2 separate regions of the Homo sapiens genome follow, and region 1 is linked to region 2. Evidence: promoter capture Hi-C in 16 types of primary human blood cells and fetal thymus (Javierre and others, 2016). All regions are on one chromosome and are shown on one strand. Each heading gives the region's core, a stretch centred on a gene start or on the middle of the fragment in contact. The rest is flanking DNA. Distances are from core to core; before and after follow the strand shown. Region 1 has its middle 3.5 kb from the start of MTAP. Region 2 holds the start of IFNA8 (interferon alpha 8).

The links. The method cuts DNA at HindIII sites, captures the fragments that hold promoters and counts their contacts. A CHiCAGO score of 5 or more calls a contact.
Region 1: a contact is called between a fragment that was not itself captured here and the fragment with the promoter of IFNA8 in region 2, in 1 of 17 cell types (naive CD8 T cells). The highest score is 6.1, in naive CD8 T cells.

What each region holds. Positions count from the first base shown.
Region 1 is chr9:21,795,707-21,802,545 of GRCh38, forward strand. No RefSeq gene overlaps it. Among named protein-coding and RNA genes, the nearest start is that of MTAP, 3.5 kb to the right of the region's middle. RefSeq lists enhancers at 5,809-6,439, 6,440-6,839. The HindIII fragment of the contact is 1,700 bases long and covers 4,054-5,753 here.
Region 2 is chr9:21,407,064-21,413,564 of GRCh38, forward strand. IFNA8 (interferon alpha 8) reads left to right here and starts at 2,054. Exons shown (of 1, transcript NM_002170.4): 1 at 2,054-3,122. The coding sequence starts at 2,114. The coding sequence ends at 2,683. The HindIII fragment of the contact is 19,531 bases long and covers 1-6,501 here.

The sequences.
Region 1 (6,839 bases), core at 3,654-6,153, 390 kb after region 2:
TTAATTCTTTCTCACTTTCTTTATTGCCTGATTTGGGTAGATAGAAGTTACCACCACCATCATCATGGGTTGCTTTTAATGTTTCCAAGAGGTCACAACTCTAAAGTCACAGGGATGATCAGAGGATGGTGGAGCCAGATGGAAGAGACCACCTTCTAATAGCAAAGTCATTTTAATGGCATCTCATTGTCTTTGGCATTTCCTTCATCCTATTTTTCTGGCTCTGAAACAAATTTTTGTTTTTGCTCAGGATAAAGGTCATTAACAACTTCTTAATCAAATCTAATCGAATTTATTTTTTCTTAGTATTAATGGACCACATGATTCATTATCTAAATGACTGTCTCCTGCACTTCAATTTCCTTCATACCCAACTTCCCCGCTAACAACACACACACACCCCTCACCTCTCTAATTTCTTAGCTCATCCCTTAAGACTCACTTTCTCCAGGAAAACTCTAAAAGATGCCCAGCTCTGTGTTTTCACAGTATCTAAATTTACCCTTATCACATTGTTTTATAATATTTGACTTCTCTTTCTGACTCTTCTCACCAGATCAGGAGTTTCTTAAGGGCTCAGAGACTATATAGATCATACATCTTTCCCTCTTAGCACTAAGTTTAAGGACCAGAACATGATGGTGTAGAGAAACTTTCCCGTTGGAGACAGGGCATACAAATTTATTTCATGTGAACACATGGGAGCCTTCAGAATGAAGACCCAAAGATCCAGGGAAAATTTTCCATTTTTATGATTAGCTTTGTTAACCCAAAATATCTGAGACAGGTCTCAGTCACTTTCGAAAGATAATTTTGCCCAATGTTAAGGATGCATCGGTGACACAGCCTCAGGTCCACGATCGGCCTTCCACTGCATACACAATTTAGTCTGGTTCAGTGAATCTGCATTTTTACATAAACAATAGGGCAGAGAAAGCAATCAGATATGCATTTGTCTCAGGTGAGCCTCAGAGGGATTACTTTGAGTTCTGTCTGTCTTTCGTCCACAAGGAATTTCCTTGGGCAAATTGTGAGGGAGGTATGTAGCTTCTTATATTTGTAGCTATCTCTTCCAGGAATAAAACGGGAAGCAGGTTTGTCTAACATAGTTCCCGGCTTGACTTTTCCCTTGGCTTAGTCATTTTTTCCCTTGGCTTAATGATTTATATTCCACAGGTTCAACAAAGTATGGACAGCCATGTAGAAATATGATTGGACAAAAAGGGCATGACATACTGCTAACAGACTGAGTGGGGAAACCCAGCAAAGCTGTCTGTCTAGATTCTTCTTGGCCTCTCTGTGTAGGATTCCTTCCTTATGGGTATGAGTCAGGTCTCTCTCTGGAATGGGGGTATTATAACCCACAGTCAAACAAGATAGGTCAGACAATTTCTTCATGGCCATATTCGCATATCTTTTGGTTCTTACCCTTCACACAGAAAGGCAGAGGGAAGGTTAGAGAAATATGTTTAGGTTTTACGGCTGGCTTTAGGGAAAAGATCTTCTGGTTTCTATTATCCACCTTGGGGAAGAAGGATTCTAGTTTCTATGGTAGCATCAGGGGGATAATGGGCGTGAAAGACAGGCAGGAGAAGGTCAGAGAAAAACTTTCGCTTTTGAGGCTGCTTCTGAGGACTTCCTTTTTGGGGTGTTGTTATCTGAATCTCAACAGTGGAAAAAATAATAATTAATCAAGAGTTTAGACTTTGCAATTAGGACAGATTCAGGACTGAATCTCAATTACTTTAGTTATATAAATTTGAGAAGACTTCTTAAATGCTCTGAGCCTCATGTTCCTCATGCAATGATAGTGATAATAACACCAACACTTGTCCTTTCTCAAACATCACATCCTACCTAGAATTTAATTATCTCAATTTAAGGCTTAATACCTGTAAAATTCATAAACCCCTGGGTGAGGTAACATTTTAAGGTGATTTTGGCAACTTAACAGGTTTGATAGGTTTGATTGACATTTTGATGGGCTAGAGAGAGGGAAGTCCTGAAGATTCCAAACGGACAAGGAAGCTTTGGGGAGAGGCAAATAAGCAGAAAAGATGAAGTTACAGCAATTCAACTTCTCTCTCTCTCCTCCTCTGTAAAATGGAAATTACATTAATAGCAATGACATTAATATCTGTGAGGATTAAATGAAGAATATGTGGCTCTTAATAAATATTAGCTGTTTTGTTGTTGCTCTTGAAGATGCTCAGAAGACAAATATGACTTTGTTCCCAATTTGTTTTTAGGATTGTATGTACAGACAACATATGGATTTGCCAGAGAAGAAAAGCAATGCTTTTAGACTTATTTCCTGCCTTAAGTTTTTAAAGTGGAATAAAGAGCAGTGGGTCACATAAGAGCTCATTATATGGGTCTTTCATCATAGCTTTAGATCCTGACACGCTAAGCAGAGATTATGTTGCATCTGTGATATTAAAATACATCTGGGTATCTATTACTTTTTGGCCCTTTTCTATACAAAGCACAGAAGCTGAGAATCATGTCTCTTCAGATCAAGATTGAACATACTCTCTCTTTCACTGAGGGAGGTATAGGGTTCAGGGCTTAATCTTACACTTTGCTTATCCTATAACAGAAATAATAATACCTATTATTATTTATAATAGGTATGTGAAGATCCTGGGAGTCCAGGGTAGATGGCCATTCTGTTAACCTGAATATGCTTTTAATGTGCAGCATTAATCTAAGAAAAGTGAAAAAATGGTGAGATTTTACTTCAAAAAATCCAAATTATATGCAACTTAAGTCATCTTCAGTAGAGTTTCAGAAATGATAGGGGAGATACAATTTGAAGTGAACTTTGAAGACAAGACAAGGTGATTTGCAATGAAGGATATTTCTAGGGTAAAAGGGACTTTGAATAGAAGGAACGAATAAAGAAAACTGAAGGAGAACTTGATTCTATTGCAACAAGAAACATATGGCTAATTCCAACTATCTGGAGCATACCAACTTTAAAGCAGACTGTCAAAACTGACCCTACTTAACTCATTTTAAAGCATGGGGTTCTTCCCTCAACCAAAAACACAGATGCCAGGTTACACTTTATAACTGGACTCTCCACTTTCATTAAAGGTCATTATAAGGAATTGCCACCTAAAATGTGATGTAAATATTTTTTGAGAAACCTAGTATATCACTTGCAATTCCCTCTATAAAGTACCTGCAATAAATGCATTTTTAATATTAGATTTCAGTAATATTTTCTTCACTTGTGACATACTACTTATTTTGTTTTATCACTATGATAATGGGAGAATGGAACACTTCTCTTTGTTTTTTGTTCTTATTTCCTTAAAGTTTTAGAGTAATAGTCACATACTAACCTATAAGAAATTTAGAAAGGTTCAATTAGGCCTTCTATGACAAAAATATCTAAGTCTCTAGTTACTAAAATGTTAATGTTTATGTTGTATCATGGTCTATACTGCAGAGTCAGGGTAAAGACACATAGCTGTATTTTTTAGATCAATAATTTGTTCAGTTATTTACAATCAAGAGTGTTAAGAGAACTTGGATTGCAGACAAATCTCTTATACATTTATCCAATTATATTCAATGTTTTTTCAGAAGGGTACCTTAGGACTGGCCTGGTACATACTTGCATATCTTTTGCTTCTTAATAAACACTAGCCACTATTTTCTTTTCAGTACATTTTTTTTCCTTCTTGGGCAGGATAAAGAGAAGTTGATTATTCTGATAATTGCCTGTGGAGAAGTTTCTTTGGATACAATTTTATTAAGGGCATTGAGTCTCTGAGTTTAACTTTTTTCTTCCCAATGACCACACTGTGCACAACGATGATGTTGTGGATTTTGAACCTGAATTTATACCAGTTCAGACATCTTTGGCTTCTTCATGCTGGCATAGGCTTGCCTGGCTGAGAATCTGAAGATGCAATAATTTTTAAAATGTATTACTGTCATTATTATAATTAGTTTACTTATTGTTCCCCCAGATATTTTTTCAACAATGTTCTGCTAAATCTAGAGTGGCTGCTTGCTAATAGAACTTTAGCTTTTTCACAAAGCTTCCAATGTGGGAATCTAATCCATTGTCAAAAGTAGTGGCCAAAATGTCCCTACTCATTGTGGCTGTGATACAGGTGTATTGTAAAAAGATGTGATTCACACACCATTGGGGATCTCTAAGCACACCTCCATGTTATTTAGAATTTTTATTTTGGCCCAAATATCTACAAGGTAGTGGGGAGTTATGTGAGTTTCTTAGGCCATGACAACTTGCCAGCTTTAATACCTTCAGATGAGGATGGGTTACCAGCCAGCTTGGGCCCATTTTGTAGTACCCATCCAGGACAGACATACTGGTCAGGGGCAGAAATATAACAATTCAGTGGGAAAGCTGATATGGTTGGCTGAGGTGATACATTTCATGCATTTGTGTGAATACTTCCTCCTGAAGATTTGATGATTCTGGAATGGTTTGGAGACGACTTCAAAAATAACATGTTTAGTAAAAGGGAACTGTAGGACACTGAAGAACCACTGCTCAAGACCCAACATAGTCAGCTACTGGTGATAACCATTTCAGTACTTTGTTGGCTAGGACCTAGAAGTTGGGAAGACATTTATGAGAGATTATCAAAAAGGGAGAAGCTGTTGGAATCCTTATACTGTTTCATAATCAGAATTGTTGTAAGGTGACCTAGTTCTTGATAATTATCTTTAGAAAAGCAAGGGTACAGGTTAACAGAGGGGGATTTATAGGATAAGAACAGAAGGGCAGGGCAAAATCTATGTTCACAAATAGACCGACTCTCCTTGTCTTGTTGACATAGTAATCAAAAAGGGAGACCACTGAAAATTTTTGCGTATTCAAAATTATTGAAAATTTTGTCTTCCTTTTATTTTAGGGCTTGTTAAGAAAAAACATGACCCAAAATTTGGAAATAAGGCAAAAATATTACTGCCTACCTTTTCAAAGATACTGCACTAAAGAAAGCACTGTCCCACAGGACTGCCCAAGGGTTATCCAAGTCTGGGTAGCAAGGGGTCGTCTGATTCAGGCACTACCCTGAGCGGAAAACAATGGCCCAAGACCTCGACCAAACCCAGCTCTCCACCTGTTTTTGTACAGCTTTGAACTGAGAATGCTTTTTTACAATCTTAAGTGGTTGAGAAAATATCAAAAGTAGAATAATATTTTGTCACATGTAAGTTTACATGAAATTCAAACTTTAGAAGAATTTCCTCTTCACAGACATCACATCTTCAAGAGCAAATGCTTGAGCCCTAACCTGCAAGTTATAGTAGAAAAGTCCAGAAGTCCAGCCTGGTCCTCGCCAAGTTTCCAACTCCTATGCCTAGGGGTATTTTATGCTTACAGGATCTAACTTGGTTACAACGTCTAACTTTTAGCAGAGAGGCAGTGCTGAGTAGAAACTGGACTTGTTAACCATATCAAGTCACTTAAGTTGGCTAGGATCCCCTACTTAGGTAGCGGCCATAAAGCCTAGGGCATCCCTGTGCCCTCAATGGTTCACTTCTGAGTGGTGGGCTTCCTGCTCCTCAATAGAGCAATCGGCAGAAAGGCCCCTAGAAAGCTACATTGTCTTCATCCGCGAAGGATTCCCTGTCTCCTATTCCTCAAAGGAGCACCCGGATTCTACTTTCATTCTTCTTTTGCCATTGCATTTTATAACTTAAAAGAAATAGATGATTGTAACAGAAGAAAGAAAACTTTACATTGTGAGAAAATTTAGACCTAAAGCTTATAGTAATGTGAGGACGAAAGTCTATACTGTTTAAGTAAATAGGTTCTATGAGCAGCATCCAGGCTAACATCACACAGTGGTATTTTGAATTAAATTGTACTTGTGTTTTGTTTCCGTGTTTTGCTGCTGTAAGGAAAGAGGAAAGCATCCCCTTTCTCGGCCCTCCTCCCACGTCCAGGCTAATTTGCAGCATTTCTACATCTCAGAGTCCACCCTTAAGATCCTTGCCACCCATTATTTTGTTTCAGAACGCTTAATCCATCAAGGAAGGTTAAATTGGATTACCCCAGTAGGGAAGGGACGGGGGCTGTAAGCATGAGGGATTATCCCTGTAAAGGGCTCGTGGTGTGTGTGTGTGTGCGTCCTGCTAGTGTTGAATGACGGAGACCTGAGTTTGGATTCTGAATCCAGGTGTATTCGATGCCGCTCCGGCGTAGAACGGGTTAAAGATGCCCCCAGCCAGGTAGAGCCAGACTGGGAGTTGTGCAAGGTCTCAACCCCCTAAAAGCGGCCCCTCAAATTGAAGATGAGTAAATCATAGTTCGTAAATCAGAAAGATTATCCAGTACTACGTTACTCTGTTTATTTCCCTTTCGTCATCCCTGAGTCTTGGGTCAAGTCCATCCCAGCTCTGTCCTCCAGGAATCAAGGGAAATACGCAAACCCGCGGTGGGTTCGCAGCCGCAGGAAGGACAAATCTTGCCCCCGCCGCGGCGGCCGCCCCGCGTTAGCTGCCTAAGAGAATCTCCGTGGCCGGCCAGTACCCGCCTTGGTGAGGATTCTCCCTCCCGCGAGAACTTCTGGAATGCCGCCGGGCCAGATTTTGCAGCTGAGGCCTCCGACGCCACTAATATTGGGCCAAGCAGGGAGTGCTGCTCTTCCTTATAAGGTTTTAGCGAAAGTTAAGTAAGCCAATTAAAGTGCAAAACACACAGTCTGGAACAATACAGCGCTCTATAAATGGTCTCCATTATTATCATTATCCGTTAGTTATAACTGGGGATAAAAAAAAAAAAAAAACGACAAAAACCTGGAGAACCGGAAAGGTCTGCAAAAGGGGCGGAACGCGGGAACTTCGAT
Region 2 (6,501 bases), core at 804-3,303:
CTAGCCATGCTGGCAGCTGATTAGATGGTGCCCACAGTGACTGAGTGTGGGTCTGCCTCTCGCAGTTCACTGACTCAAATTTTAATCTCCTTTGGCAATACCCTCACAGACACACCTAGGAACAACACTTTGCATCCTTCAATTCAATCAGGATAACACTCAATGTTAACCATCACAACAGATAACATGCAATATACTGATCTTCTGAGTTTATCTGTCTACTAGTGGAGAACTTGAGATAATTATACTTGTCCATTCTACAGACAGAATATTGTGCTCTTACAAATTTGCCTTTCTGGTGCACAGTGTCTTATGTTTGGTTCATCACCCTCAACTGTCTAGTAAGGCTGAATTCACTAAAGCTGAAAACATCCCCTTGGACCAGTAATGATTACTTTTCTTTGAGCTCCTGCCCATTTGCTACCTTTGTTCTACATCTCTTGCACCATTTTGCTTCTGCTCTTCCTCACCCCTTAATGTCCATCTAATCTGGGCTGAATATCCAAGTTATATTTTGTTAGTTGTTTTTCTCCTTTGGGATGTTACTTCCATTCTTATGTTTTTATCACATTTAGTTATACATTTGTTTTCTTTTTGCTCTCATTTATTGGGATACAAAAAGCAACAACTTTTGCTTTCTGTGAAAAAGGAAATGAGAAAGATATCTGGTATCCTGCATGCTATGTACAACAATTGCACACCTCATTTACTTTATCATACTTAGATATTATTATTTACCTTAGGAAACAGATGGCTTTTTTTATTTTATAAGAATGAACTAGAATTGGGATGTCCCCAGGTTCTTTGGGAAATCTAAACATTAATGCAAAAATTGTTTTGAAAAATATAATTGATGTTTTCTCAATTGTGTATTCTCATTGGGGATGATATTGCTCCTAAGGGCACAAACCTTAGTTCTTGTGGTGTGAACAAATTGTAGATATTATATTCGTTTATGGCCCCTCAATGCAGAACTCTAAGACAACCCTATCCTGTAGTGTTTATTTTCTTTCACTTGGTTTTCTTATGTATTACATGAAAAGACTGATATTGAGTTCATGGAAGATACACAAAATGTATGTGAGATTAGTGTTGCAAACCAATGTGAAATAGATGGTTGTCACTGGTGGACTTTCCACTATGTGCTCAATCTCAGAGTCATACCATGTGATGTGGTCTCCATCGGCATATGAATGGGCTGCCATTGGCTGTCTTGGGTATGTAGCTTATGTTTGATCCTCAGTGCTTTCAAGTGTATTATACTCTTTTATACAAATGTTTTTATTTTATGATTAAATTGTATAAAACTTTTTCAAACATCACTACTTATAGGAAGTGCTGAAAAGAAAAATATGTTGACTATATCTGGATGAAAATCTAGCAGTTAGTGAAGGTAAAAATCATTTTCTATATGAAGCAAAGCTAAAAGTTAAGTATAATAAATTAAATGTTACAGGAATAATTTAATTTTAAATAGCCCCTTAGCAGTTTTGGGAGATTTTTAAGTATTTTTATTTTTTTGATATTACATATTTTATATAAGTATTTTTATTATATTGGTATTATATATTTTCATATATTATAACTTTGCATGTTTCACTTGATTCATTAATATTTATATAAGTATATATACTAGAAGTCACTCAGCAAATAACTTTTATAAAGTTAAATGCCAATAGCTTTTAAATTTAACTTTTGACATAAAATTTTTACTTATTCTTAATGCTGCATTGCATAAAAAAGTAAACTGTCCACTTTGTTTTCTAAAGCATGGATAGGAATGTAGTACATTCAAATATGTGCATAATATATCTGTGTTATTAAATTATCAGGAGGGGTTTACTTAGAAAAAAATTATCAAACAGGACTCTGGAGGTTGAGAAAGGGAATGCAGTAATGAAAAGAAAACTGGTTGAGAAACACTTTCCTAAGCCCATGTAGAGAGTACATAAAGGAAAGCAAAAACAGAAGTAGAAAAAAAAAATGCAGTAGCATTCAGAAAATGGAAACAAATATGTTCCCTATATAAGGCGGTGTACAAACCAAAGTCTTCAGAGACCCAGGTTAAGGGTCATCCATCTGAACCAGCTCAGCAGCATCCACAACATCTACAATGGCCTTGACTTTTTATTTACTGGTGGCCCTAGTGGTGCTCAGCTACAAGTCATTCAGCTCTCTGGGCTGTGATCTGCCTCAGACTCACAGCCTGGGTAACAGGAGGGCCTTGATACTCCTGGCACAAATGCGAAGAATCTCTCCTTTCTCCTGCCTGAAGGACAGACATGACTTTGAATTCCCCCAGGAGGAGTTTGATGATAAACAGTTCCAGAAGGCTCAAGCCATCTCTGTCCTCCATGAGATGATCCAGCAGACCTTCAACCTCTTCAGCACAAAGGACTCATCTGCTGCTTTGGATGAGACCCTTCTAGATGAATTCTACATCGAACTTGACCAGCAGCTGAATGACCTGGAGTCCTGTGTGATGCAGGAAGTGGGGGTGATAGAGTCTCCCCTGATGTACGAGGACTCCATCCTGGCTGTGAGGAAATACTTCCAAAGAATCACTCTATATCTGACAGAGAAGAAATACAGCTCTTGTGCCTGGGAGGTTGTCAGAGCAGAAATCATGAGATCCTTCTCTTTATCAATCAACTTGCAAAAAAGATTGAAGAGTAAGGAATGAGACCTGGTACAACACGGAAATGATTCTTATAGACTAATACAGCAGCTCACACTTCGACAAGTTGTGCTCTTTCAAAGACCCTTGTTTCTGCCAAAACCATGCTATGAATTGAATCAAATGTGTCAAGTGTTTTCAGGAGTGTTAAGCAACATCCTGTTCAGCTGTATGGGCACTAGTCCCTTACAGATGACCATGCTGATGGATCTATTCATCTATTTATTTAAATCTTTATTTAGTTAACTATCTATAGGGCTTAAATTAGTTTTGTTCATATTATATTATGTGAACTTTTACATTGTGAATTGTGTAACAAAAACATGTTCTTTATATTTATTATTTTGCCTTGTTTATTAAATTTTTACTATAGAAAAATTCTTTATTTATTCTTTAAAATTGAACTCCAACCCTGATTGTGCAAACTGATTAAAGAATGGATGGTACAATTCCTTTATCCATGCTTATTACATTCAAATTATAAGTAAAAATGAACTTTGTCTAAATTAGGTTGTATGTTGCCCTCAAGATATCCAGGTGAACATAACAAATACAATTCCCGCTCTCTCATATCTTTGTTTTTTGTTGGGAAAGAAAACTAAAAACAGTAATCATACTTAATATCAGTTATGTCTAATGCTATCATGAGAAGAAAGAACCAATGAATTTATCTCACCAGAAGGTAGACCAAGGCATGTGAGGAAATAAAAATAAACGCAGAGATATCCTCTATATGCTAACTGGTAGACATCTAAGTGAAAATGTGCACTACCAGTTGGATATATGAGTTTGCAATTAATAAGGAATGCAATTGCTAGAGGTTCATATGCAGTAACTGAAAGCCCAGAAATGGAGGATCTCATGTGGGGAGAGAGTGTCGAGGGAGAAAATGGCTTAAACGTGATTCTGAGGACCTTCCACACTTAAGAAAGGAAAGAGAAGAGCCACAAAGAAACAGATGGAAAGGCCACACATTAGAAGGACAACAGGAGAAAATACTAGGAAAAAAAGTTTAAGAAAATTAATATTCTTAAAAGAGTTATCAGTAGATTTACAGAAGATATACATTGAAACTGTCCACTACCTCGGGAAAATAGATGGCACTGGCAACCTTATGAGAGTTATTATGGTAAAATAAATCAGAACAAACCATACTGTAGTGGCTGGAAGTATAAATAAGAGAAGTTAGTGACTCTGAAGAGGGCAAAAAAATAGGATGTGATGGGGGAAAGAATGTGAGTTACTTTTTCTGTGCATAGTATTTCCTTTATTAATATTTTTCTGGATAGATTTCATGTAACTGATGTACTAGCAAATCATATTAATATACTTAATATATTATTTTAAATCATGATATATTATTTACAATTATAATTTATTATTGTTTTAATTAATACTACTTTGGCTATCAGTAAGCTACCTAGTTTCTGTTCATCTGTTAGGGAGTAAGAGATAACTAATTCGATCCTTCACCGAAATAATTAATGATGATAATATAATGACACCTGGAAGTATTGGCCTTATTTGTTGTTAACTTGCATCATTGTCACACTGGTTTACTACAGTTCTTCTGCACCTTTACAATCCATCTTAATTTCTTGTAGTGCTAGATATAAGAATTCTTTTATGTTACACTTTGGTAATTCTTCCTGATTTCATGAATATTGTAGTCTTAGATCAATCCAGAAAGAACCGAATTACTATGGACATAAAGACTGACAAACATCCTTCACAAAATAAAAGTGGGAAACAATCAGAGACTTTCTTTCTCAATACGTAAGGTAAAGAAAAAAACTGGTCAACATCAAGTGAAAATACATGAACCACGCATATTCAGAGAGCAAGGAAGAGTTATGTATAATTCATGAATAAAAGGAGATTTAGCAATTATGACAGAAATCTGGAATACAAAACTGACAAAATCACCCATCAATTACATTAAAGAATTTGATACTGAAATTTCATTCTGCTGGGAGGTAGGTGTATTGTTGATCATTCTGCTTAATCTCTTTGAGCCTTAGTTTTCTCATAGAGCCTTAGTTTTCTCATAAATAAAATGGTTTCAAAATATTTATATAGTTGTGAGTATTAAAGGAACACATGCATTTTAAAGCACCTACGATAATATCTTTTATCGAATAAGGAGTTAAACTATGGTAGGTATTTTCCTATTTTTCTTCATACAGCTGTAGATGGTAATATTATTTGTCTTTTTATAAAATTCTTAGGAACTATGTCCTATATTTTAGTAACGGACCTCCAATGGAAGGAGATTAAGAAAATGAGAATTCTAGAGAGGCTGAAAAATTGTCAATCCTCATTTCAAAGATGTGTCCTATTTATATGCAGTCAGGGAATGGTGGCTGCTCCTTTTCCTGAGATAGGAGAAGAAGCATCTAGTTTGAACTGCAGAAGACACATGATGTTTATTGACTGATTCTGGCACCTGGTACATTCCTTCCCTGGCTCTCAGCATTCCAGGATGCAGTCTCATATCACCAGGGTTTCCTTGATCATTCACTCCCTTTATCCTTCTGCCCATTCACACAGAGCTGCTTTCTGTTCTGTTGTGGTTCTGGCTTCATGGTTTCCCTAAATAGCAGAAAAGTAAAAGTAGAAAGCAGAAGTTAAATAAAAAAGACAGTCCCCTGGGACCAAGTGTAACAAGAGCAGCAACCAAGACTGGAGGGCAGGTTTCTGATCTATGGAGAAATCCTACCAGTTCTGGAGATTTCTCTTTGTGCTGCAAAAAAGCTACTTATTGGCGAGAAGAGACGCTAATGTTGTCCAAGTTTGTTCCTTATCCCTGGTCTATTACAAAGAGAATGAGTTTCCAGGTACAGTCAAGGCATGGACTCCTTGGGATTCGCAGTGATAGGGACACAGAGATGTAATATCTGCCCACCCTACTGTGCAGAACAGTCTACTCCCCAGGATCACCCCATCCTCATACATTGGGACTCCAGGGCACAGGTAGGGCTGCCGTTTTGTATTGGAACTTAATACTATTCACAGAAACCTCATGTTTAATGGTGCATTAAACCAGCAGTACAATCTTAATTTCACAGATTTAATCCTAATATCAGAGTTCAAACATTAACAAATTAAAACATTTTCTCACTGTCATTTTGAATAATGATCTTTCCAGTTCTTCCACTCAACAGTAAAACCCCTGCCCAGTTAGAAAAAGGAAGAATTCCCATAGAAGCTAAGGAATGTGAAAGAATAGCATTACTGTTCCCTGAGAGCTGGCGAGGTCTATTTATTCAAATGTATCAATTTTGGTAGAGATTGAGAGGCATTCCTATAATTGACACCATATATTCTGGAGTTATTTCACTAGGAAGTGTGTGTGAATTGCTGAGGTAGCAGGGAGGGAGAGCCTACAACTGCACAGGGGCCTCTTGAGTCTTTTCCTCCAGCTACACACTCAACATCTGGATTTGCTGCTTTCAGACTGGGAGTTGACCAGGGCCTTAGACAAATTACAAAAAATTGTATTGTTTGCAGTCTTCTTCTGTCCTCTAGAGGGGAGGATGGAGAAATTTAGGAGTGACCAACGGGGAGGTAATTGAATCATGGGGGTCGGTCTTTCCCATGGTGTTCTCGTGATAGTGAATAAGTCTCATGAGATCTGATGGGTTTATCAAGGGTTTCTCCTTTTGCTAATTCCTCATTTTTCTCTTGCCAGCACCATGCAAGAAGTGCCTTTCACCTCCTGCCGTGATTCTGAGGCCTCCCCAGCCATGTGGAACTAACTGTAAGTCCAATTAAACCTTTTGTTCCTAGTTTCAGGTATGTCTTTATTAGCAGCATGAAAACAA